Linked DNA regions of Homo sapiens: region 2 is linked to region 1. The links are contacts of gene promoters, found by promoter capture Hi-C in human tissues and cell types (Jung and others, 2019). All regions are on one chromosome and are shown on one strand. Each heading gives the region's core, a stretch centred on a gene start or on the middle of the fragment in contact. The rest is flanking DNA. Distances are from core to core; before and after follow the strand shown. Region 1 holds the start of PGAP3 (post-GPI attachment to proteins phospholipase 3). Region 2 overlaps WIPF2 (WAS/WASL interacting protein family member 2).

What was found. The method cuts DNA at HindIII sites, captures the fragments that hold promoters and counts their contacts. A contact is called where the count stands out against the background at its distance.
Region 2: a contact is called between a fragment that was not itself captured here and the fragment with the promoter of PGAP3 in region 1, in 1 of the 25 tissues and cell types used here (aorta).

What each region holds. Positions count from the first base shown.
Region 1 is chr17:39,685,970-39,690,672 of GRCh38, forward strand. It overlaps PGAP3 (post-GPI attachment to proteins phospholipase 3), which reads right to left and starts at 2,088. Exons shown (of 8, transcript NM_033419.5): 1 at 1,865-2,088; 2 at 1-50. The coding sequence starts at 2,045. It also overlaps a transcript of ERBB2 not described here. RefSeq lists enhancers at 2,107-2,216, 2,927-3,887 and a silencer at 3,167-3,461. The HindIII fragment of the contact is 945 bases long and covers 1,438-2,382 here.
Region 2 is chr17:40,269,011-40,273,713 of GRCh38, forward strand. The region is part of intron 5 of WIPF2 (WAS/WASL interacting protein family member 2); the gene reads left to right. Among named protein-coding and RNA genes, the nearest start is that of CDC6, 17 kb to the right of the region's middle. The HindIII fragment of the contact is 6,236 bases long and covers 1-4,703 here.

The sequences.
Region 1 (4,703 bases), core at 838-3,337:
AACGGTGACCCACATACACTCATACTTACAGTCGTCCCGACAGGTCCAGCCTGAAACAGACAAATGTGGCCTGGTGAACTCCCCAGCACAGAGAGGAAAGAGAGAGCATGAATGGGGTCCAAGCGCAAATGTAGGCCAAGAGGGCCTGTAAGTTGGAGAGAACCAGGAGAAATCTCAAAATTCTAGCTTCCCCTTTGAATGAATGAGAGATGATGAGATGTACACATAGGGGAAGGTGTATGTACGTATGTATGCATATTTTAGTGAGCAATTAGAGATATTCGTCTTTTTTTTGTTTGTTTTTTTGAGACAGTTTTGTTTTTGTTGCCCAGGCTGGAGTGCAATGGTGCGATCTCGGTTCACTGCAACCTCCGCCTCCTGGGTTCAAGCGATTCTCCTGCCTCAGGCTCCCGAGTAGCTGGGATTACAGGCATGCACCACCACACCCAACTAATTTTGTATTTTTAGTAGAGATGGGGTTTCTCCATGTTGGTCAGGGTGGTCTTGAACTCCCAACCTCAGGTTATCTGCCTGCCTCTGCCACCTAAAGTGCGGGGATTGCAGGCACGAGCCACCGCACCCGGCATTTTTTTTTTTTTTTTTTTTTTGAGACAGGGTCTCGCTCTTTCATCCAGGCTGGAGTGCAGTGGGGAGAGCATGGCTCACCACAGCCTTGACCTCCTGGGCTCAAACGATCCTCCCACCTCAGCCTCCCAAGTAGCGAGACCACAATGTCTGGCTAATTCTTTTATTTTTTGTAGAGAAGGCATCTTGTCATGTTGCCTAGGCTAGTCTTGAACTCCAGGGCTCAGATGATCTTTCTACCTTGGCAGACATTTCCTCTCCTTTTGCTCAAGTCCATCAAGATGTTGGCATCTGATGAACTCATCTATGGAAACCTGGGTTTATATTTGTCCTTCCTGAATATAGGATTTGCTCTTACTCTCCTGGAAGGAGTTCTTGCTATCTTACTCCCTTCCTATGAAAATGAAGCCCAAATTCTTCAACCTGACTTTTGAGGCTCCAAATTGCCTTTCCAACCGTATTGGTCACTACTCCTGTTCATGTACCCTGCTCCCTGAGTAAATAAAGCTCCTGGATGTGCCCACATCTGCCCAGGGCATCCATTCTCTCTGTTCCCTCTGTCTGGAATGCAAAGTGGTATAATAGTAAAGAGGACAAGCTTGTGGTCAAACAGGCCAGAACTGGAAACTCCACTTTACTACATACTGGCTGTGTGACCTTGGGCAGGGCATTTAATCTCTCTAATCCCCATCTGTAAAACTGGGATTAGAGAAACTATCTCAAAGGGTGTGATAAAAATTACTTGACATATTGTGACACCTGTCACACAGTGAGTGCTCAATACGTTGGTTCTTTGCCCACTATGGTCCAAATCGAATGTACCAGTCCAAAGTCCCTCCTTCAAACAAAACGTTCCAAGATGATCCCTGCCCCCACGTCTTCAAAGCCGGAACTGACACCTTCCTATCCCAAATGCTTCCTAATCAAAGAGTCTTTCAGGGGCTCAAATCATTCTCTGCCTTGCACTTGAAAAGGCTCATGTCCCCGTGGGGACTGTGAGTCCCAATGGGCGGGACCCTGGTCTGATTTCTGTGCCATTCCTAGACATTGTGGCCCGAATGTATTTAATAAATACCCTTTTGACTGAACAAATAAGTAAATGAAAGCTTCTGGGAAAGTAAGAGAGGCTGGTAAGGCTCTCATCACCTTAGGGGCTTCACTCACATTCATAAGAGACCTCGTGGGGAAACTAAGGTTCAGGGATTGCAGAGGCGTATTGGGGGCGCAGGGGGCGGGAGCAAGACAAATGGGCGGGGCTTACCGTGGGGGTGGGGCTTACCTGCTAGACTCATGTAGATTGGCTGGCGGGAGCGGAAGTGATTCAGAGCGCCCCCAGAGCAGTTCTGCTCTTCGCACTGCAGTACGCAGTCGCGGTACACCGGCTCACGGTCGCCCTGGGAGCCGCTCGCCAGCGCCGCTGCCCCAGCTAGCAGGACCAACCGCGCCGCCAGGCCGGCCATCCTTTCTCCCTGGCTCGCCGCCGGGGGAGGAGCTTAGGAGTATGAAGCTTCCACTTCCGGAGTAACCGGAAGTTCCTGTGTTCTTTATTCTACTCTCCGCTGAAGTCCACACAGTTTAAATTAAAGTTCCCGGATTTTTGTGGGCGCCTGCCCCGCCCCTCGTCCCCCTGCTGTGTCCATATATCGAGGCGATAGGGTTAAGGGAAGGCGGACGCCTGATGGGTTAATGAGCAAACTGAAGTGTTTTCCATGATCTTTTTTGAGGTAGGGCTGTTTACTGTCACCACCCCTGTCGGATTTTACTTCCTAAACGTACCTGTAACTATCCACTTCTCTCCATCTCTTCTGGCACCACCCTGGTTAAAGACACCATCATGTGTCGCCAAGACAGCCGCAGTAGCTTCTTAATGGCTCTCCCTGCCTCTACTTTTGCCTCTTCCAACCTGCGCTCCATTTTGAAAAATTAAAATTTGCCCATATCACTTTTTTTTTCTTAAAATTATTTACTGGCTCCCAATTACCTTGGGTAAAATACAGTCTCCACAAACCCTGCCTGATTTGGCCCCTGTCCACTGGTCTCCCTCACTCCCTTGCTCCAGACCCGCTTCAGAGGGCTATGTCCCTCAAGCTTCCTGACTGCCTGGCCTGGTCTGAATCACTCACTCTTCTTTTTTCTTCTAGTCGCAATTGAAGTACCACCTCCCGAGGGTGATTGCTTCCCCATGCGGGGTAGAACCTTTGCTGTCCTGTTCACCACTCTACCTCCAGCACAGAATTTGGCTTATGGTAGGCGCTAACTGCGTTTGTTTGTTCTTCTGTTTAATGAATGAACAGCATACATCAACATAAGAACTTGACAAATCCAGGGCTGTAAAATCATCAGTATGGTTCTGCACTGAGATCGGAGAGAAGTAATATTTCTAGGAAAATTAGGAACCCTGGGAACAGGACGCTTGCTTTAGTATCCTCTCCCTGCTCACCTCCCCTGCACTCCCATCAGCACCGACCCACACCCAATCTCATAGAAGCCTTGTAGCTAAGGATCACCCTTTCTCCTCCCCCACTCTCCTCACCCCTTGTCAACTTTTCTTTTTCGTCCTGGGGGTTGGAATGAGTAAGAAGTAGCCTGGGATTCCATTCACTCACTTAACAAACATTTCTGAGTCCTTAGCTCTAGCACCTTGCTAAGCAAGGCAAAATCTCCAGGAGGCACCATTCACATTGCATTTTCTGTGAATGGTGCTCTGGGGAGCAGCATTCACATTGCCTTTTCTGTGAATGGCAAATTCTTCCAGTTAAATATAACATGAATAGTGTCCCCTGGAGTTGACCACCCAACTGATACTGACTGAGAAGCTGAAATGAACAAAACAACCCCTTAGCCCTCCAGGAGCTGACCGGAAATCCAGTGCTAATACTACTTTGCATCTTACAGATTAGTTCTTTTACAATACTGTTTTTTTTTCTTTTTTCATTTCATTTTGTCCTTTCTGTGACTCTGGGATGAGTCTTTTTATGAGGATCCTCATATAAAGATGGACATTTAGGATTAAAGAGGATGAAATCCTGACAAAATAGGGAGTCTCCCCTTTAGAAAATTCCTAAGTAAGGCTGGGGGTGGTGGCTCACGCCTGTAATCCCAGCACTTTGGGAGGCCGAGGCGGACGGATCACCTGAGGTTAGGAGTTTGAGACCAGCCTGACCAACATGGAGAAACCCCATCTCTACTAAAAATACAAAATTAGTTGGGTGTGGTGGTGCATGCCTGTAATCCCAGCTACTCAGGAGGCTGAGGCAGGAGAATCGCTTGAACCCAGGGAGGCAGAGGTTGTGGTGAGCCAAGATTGCGCCATCGCACTCCAGCCTGGGCAACAAGAGCGAAACTCAAAAAAAAAAAAAAAAAGAAAAAGAAAATTCCAATTTTGAAGGCCTCATCCTATATTATGTCAAACATACTGAAATGCAGTAACGCCCCACATTAAATAAGATTTATAAATAACTATACATATATATAATTCAATCTAATTGCTGTTAATAGTTGACATATTGCTACATTTATATACATTTAGTTAAAAAAAATTTTTTTTCCCAGACAGCCTCTCACTCTTTCACCTAGACTGAAGTGCAGTGGCATGATCACGACTCACTGCAACCTCAACCTCCCAGACTCAAGTGATCCTTCCATCTCAGCCTCCTGAGTAGCTGGGACTGCAGCATGCGCCACTATGCCCTGCTAATTTTTTTAATTTTTTGTAGAGACACGGTCTTGCTATGTTGCCTAGACTGGTCTCCAATTCCTGGGCTCGAGTGATCCTCCCGCCTCAACCTCCCAAAGTGCTGGGATTACGGGCGTGAGCCATGCCACACGGCCATAAAATATTAATTTTCGCAGCTTTCTTATATTTTAGAACTAACAATGGAAATTTGTTCGGGTCTAAAGTATTTCAGAGGTCCTTGAAAACCCATGCCTACATACCTGATGGAAAAAGCAATCCTAGGTTAATGGTGGAAGTGGGAGTAGAGACTTCTGTTCTGTTGACTTCTTGGAAGATGGGGTACTGTCTCTCTGGGACAGCTCTTGAGAATTTCCCTGCCAGCACAGCCCCAGATAACAATCTCTAGATGGCGATTACCTGGCCTCTCTTCCCAACTTTCTAG
Region 2 (4,703 bases), core at 1,327-3,826, 580 kb after region 1:
CATTACTACAAAAAATAAAAAAACTAGGCCGGGTGCAGTGGCTCACGCCTGTAATCCTAGCAATTTGGGAGGCTGAGACAGGCAGATCACCTGAGGTCAGGAGTTCAAGACCAGCCTGGCCAACATGGTGAAACCCCATCTCTCTACTAAAATACAAAAATTAGCCAGGCATGATGGCGGGTGCCTGTAATCCCAGCTACTCGAGAGGCTGAGACGGGAGAATCGCTTGAACCCGGGAGATTGTGGTTGCAGTGAGCTAAGATTGCACCACTGCACTCCAGCATGGGTGACTGAGCGAGACTCTGTCTCAAAAAATAAATAAATAAATAAATAAAAATAAATTTAAGAAACCTAGCCAGGCGTGGTAGCGTGTGCCTGTGGTCCCAGCTACTTGGGAGGCTAGGATGGGAGGATCACTTGAGCCCAGGAGGCAGAGGCTGCAGAGAGCTGAGATCACGCCACTGCACTCCAGCCTAGGCAGCAGAGCAAGACCCTGCCTCAAAACCCGCCCCCCCAAAACCCAAAAACTAGCATTATTGGTTCATAGAGTTTGTTTCAAGAATTTTTTCTTTGCAGAGTAAAACACTGTCTTTTTTTTTTTTTTTTTTTTTTGAGATGGAGTCTTGCTCTGTCGCCCAGGCTGGAGTGCAGTGGCGCGATCTCGGCTCACTGCAAGCTCCACCTCCCAGGTTCACGCCATTCTCCTGCCTCAGCCTCCCGAGTAGCTGGGACTGCAGGCACCCGCTACCATACCCGACTAATTTTTTTGTATCTTTAGTAGAGATGGGGTTTCACCATGTTAGCCAGGATGGTCTCTATCTCCTGACCTTGTGATCCGCCTGCCTTGGCCTCCCAAAGTGCTGGGATTATAGGCATGAGCCACTGCACCCGCCAACACTGTCCATTTTTAAGGGAATTTGAGAAAAATAGAAACCATCATACTTTTCTCAAAATTAGGGTTAATCTTGGATTACAAAAGCCTGTCTCCCATCCCAGGACTTCTTTTGGAAATTGTTTTTTAGGGACTGGAGTTCTGGCTCTGTCACTTGAAACAGTCTTAAAACTGGATCTGGGGCCGGGTGCGGTGGCTCATGCCTGTAATCCCAGCACTTTGGGAGGCTGAGGCGGGCAGATCATGAGGTCAGGAGATTGAGACCATCCTGGCTAACACGGTGAAACCCTGTCTCTCTACTAAAAATACAAAAATGAGCCGGGCGTGGTGGCGGGTGCCTGTAGTCCCAGCTACTGGGGAGGCTGAGGCAGGAGAGTGGCATGAACCCGGGAGGCGGAGCTTGCAGTAAGCCGAGATCGTGCCACTGTACTCAAGCCTGGGGGACAGAGCGAGACTCCGTCTCAAAAAAAAAAAAAAAAAAGAAAAATAACTGGATCTGACAAAGAGCCCAGAAGCTTATTGGAGACAGCAGAACCTGGCTGGGATGAGGGAGGGAGCTGGAGAAGCCAAACAGATCACTCTTACCCTGCTCTATTTTGCCATTCCAGGTCGTCTCATCGCTGTCACCTGCCTGGTGTCTAGCTGGTGTCGGTGTCCTTGTGAACCTGGCTAACCCTGTTTACCTTGCTGCCCTGGCCTAGGAGTAGATACAAATTCTCAGGGCCTTGAGGAATCTGGGTTTTAGGGAATATTTTTGAGGGCTTAAAGAAGCTTCTATTCTTAAAGAGCTTTAGTTTGAGTAGATTTGGAATCAAAACAAGGCTCAGAGATCTGCTGGGAGTTACAAGATTTCTCTTTAATTATTGCATCTAGTGTCCCCTGTTTCTACTGAACAAAGCTTGGAAACAGTGAGGAAGAGTTGACATTCTGAGTGTGTCTTACGGGAAGCAAAAACATTTATTGGGCTTATTGTGCCAGATTGTGTGTGTGTGTGTGTGTATGTTATTCTATTACTGTGTTACATGCTTAACTATAGTCACTACAGCAATTCTGATAGTAATCAGGAGGAATAATAAGATACTCTTTTCTTTGAGACAGTCTTGCTGTGTCACCAGGCTGGAGTGCAGTGGCGCGATGTTGGCTTATTGCAGCCTCCATCTCCCAGGTTCAAGCTCCTCCCACCTCAGGCTCCAGAATATCTGGGATTGCAGGCGTGTGCCACCACGCTTGGCTAATTTTTGTACTTTTTTAAAATTTGAGGTGAGGTTTCATCATGTTGCCCAGGCTGATCTCGAACTCCTGGCATCAAGCAATCTGCCTGCCTCAGCCTCCCAGAGTGTTGGGATTACAGATGTGAGCCACTATGCCTAGCCAAGATACCGTTTTACTACTAAAAACAGTTTTGTCTGTTAAGCTGAGTAGTCTCTTCACATACTATTTAGGTCACAACTATTTATTGGGCCACGTGCTGTGGCACATGCCTATAATCCCAGCCCTTTGCTGAGGCGGGAGCATTGCTTGAGCCCAGGAGTTTGAAGCTGCACTGAGCTATGATTCCACCACTGCGCTTTAACCTGGGTGACAGAGTGAGACCCTGTCTCTTAAAAAAAAAAAAAAATTGAACATGGCCTAGATACCAAAAGATGCACTTCCAAGCCACTGGATTGTAAATCTGGTTGGGAAGATACTATGCAGAATACTGGGAGTTACGAAAAGCAGTGTGGGAGAGTAGAAAGAGCAGACATGTGCCTTGCCTATTTTTATTTGATCTGTGACCTTAAACAAATAACCTGAGTCCCAGTTTTCTCATTTGTGAAATGGGGATAATATTACATACTTCGCATGTGTGGCTATAAGACTTTTTAAAGATTTAATACACCGAAAATGCCTGGAACATAATAGATACCCAATAAATGGTAGCTGCTATTATTGTTAGTTAATACAGAGCATAGGAGTAAGACAAACACGTTAGAATCTATTATATTCCAGTCATATTGCCATTTCTTGACACATGCTTTTGACGTTACCTTCTACTTGGTGGCAAATTTTCATCTTTTAAGAGTGAATTTGATTTTTGGAATCACCAAAAAGCAGATTCAGACATAGGTATGAACATTTTCTTTTTTTTTTTTTTGAGGCAGAGTTTTGTTCTTGTTGCCCAGGCTGGAGTGCAATGGCACGATCTTGGATCACCGCAACCTCCGCCTCTTGGGTTCAAGCAATTCTCCTGCCTCAGCCTTCCGAGTAGCTGGGATTACAGGCATGCACCACCACATCTGGCTAATTTTTGTATTTTAATAGAGACTGGGTTTCTCCATGTTGATCAGGCTGGTCTCGAACTCCCGACCTCAGGTGATCCTCCCGCCTCGGCCTCCCAAAGTGCTGGGATTACAGGCGTGAGCCACCGTGCCTGGCATAGGTATGAATATTTTCATTGGTGATGGTGGTGGGGCGACCTCAGAAATGAAATGTGACCATCATATAATAGTGTTTACAGCTCTGACTGATAAACTTGCTTTGGAGGCAATTCCAAAAGAGGTGTTTGCAGTGTTTGAGCAATGAGACTGTTACTGGACATATGTAACTTCCCACAATGAATCTGCTGTATATATTTTGAAAATCGCTCATTGATATTAGAGTAAGTGACATAGCCTGTATATGCTGTGGGAGAGCAGAGGTGGAGGGACTCAGAAGAAAATGGATTGCTTTGGGAAAGCCTTGAGAAGATGGGACTTGGATTGAACCTTGAAGGGTAGGGAGGATTTGGTAGTAAGGGAAGGGGGGATATCAGAATATTGTGAGGGGAGTCACAAGAGCAAAGCATATAATTTGGTTTATTCAGCAAACATTGATTGAGCACCTGCTGTGTGCTGTACATTTGGCTGAACTTGGGAACCCAGAAGGAGGAACTGCTCTGACATCAAGGGGTACACAGTATACTGGGGAAAGAGCACACAGAATAAATAATTATAATAGTCTATTCAAGTGGTAGGTATGCACAAGCTGCAGTGGAAGTGCAGAGGAGGGCTCCTAACCTAGCCTAGCAATAAGAAGGGAAGAGGAGAAGCCAAGCTCAAGCTGATTGGTGTGGTAGGTTACTATGTAAGCAAAGGCTTTGAGACTTTATTTTTTTACTTATTTATGTATTTGAGATGGAGTCTCTCTCTGTTGCCCAGGCTGGAGTGCAGTGGCACAATCTGGGCTCACTGCAACCTCCACCTCCCAGGTTCAAGTGATTCTTGTGCCTCAGCCTCCTGAGGAGCTGGGACTACAGGCACACGCCACCACACCGGGCTAATTTTTTGTATTTTTAGTAGAGATGGAGTTTCATCATGTTGCCCAGGCTGGTCTCCAACTGCTGAGCTCAGGCAATCCTCCCGCCTCGGCCTCCCAAAGTGCTAGGATTATAGACGTGAGCCATCACACCCAGCCACAGTTTGAGACTTTATGATTTAGGCAGTGCAAAGCCTTTGAAAAAACTGGATCAAGTTTTTAGGGAGGTTGGTGAGTTGGTGTTATGCAAAATGAATTTGGAGGGGTAAGAGACAAAGCAAGGAGAACATTCGGAAGGCTTTTGCAGTAGAGAACAGGCTAAATATAAGGAAGACCTGAATTAGAATTGTGGAGGAAGGCATGGAAAAGCAGGAAAAAAATCAAGAACAGATAGGGTTCTGACTGACTGGTAGGAAATGTAAAAAGGCCATACATTTATTCTGAATGTTGGTATCTGGAAGAATGGTGATGCTGTTCAAGTAATAAGGACAAAGGGGAACCAGGCACTGTGAGCCTCTGTGGGGTGTGTTACTCTTTT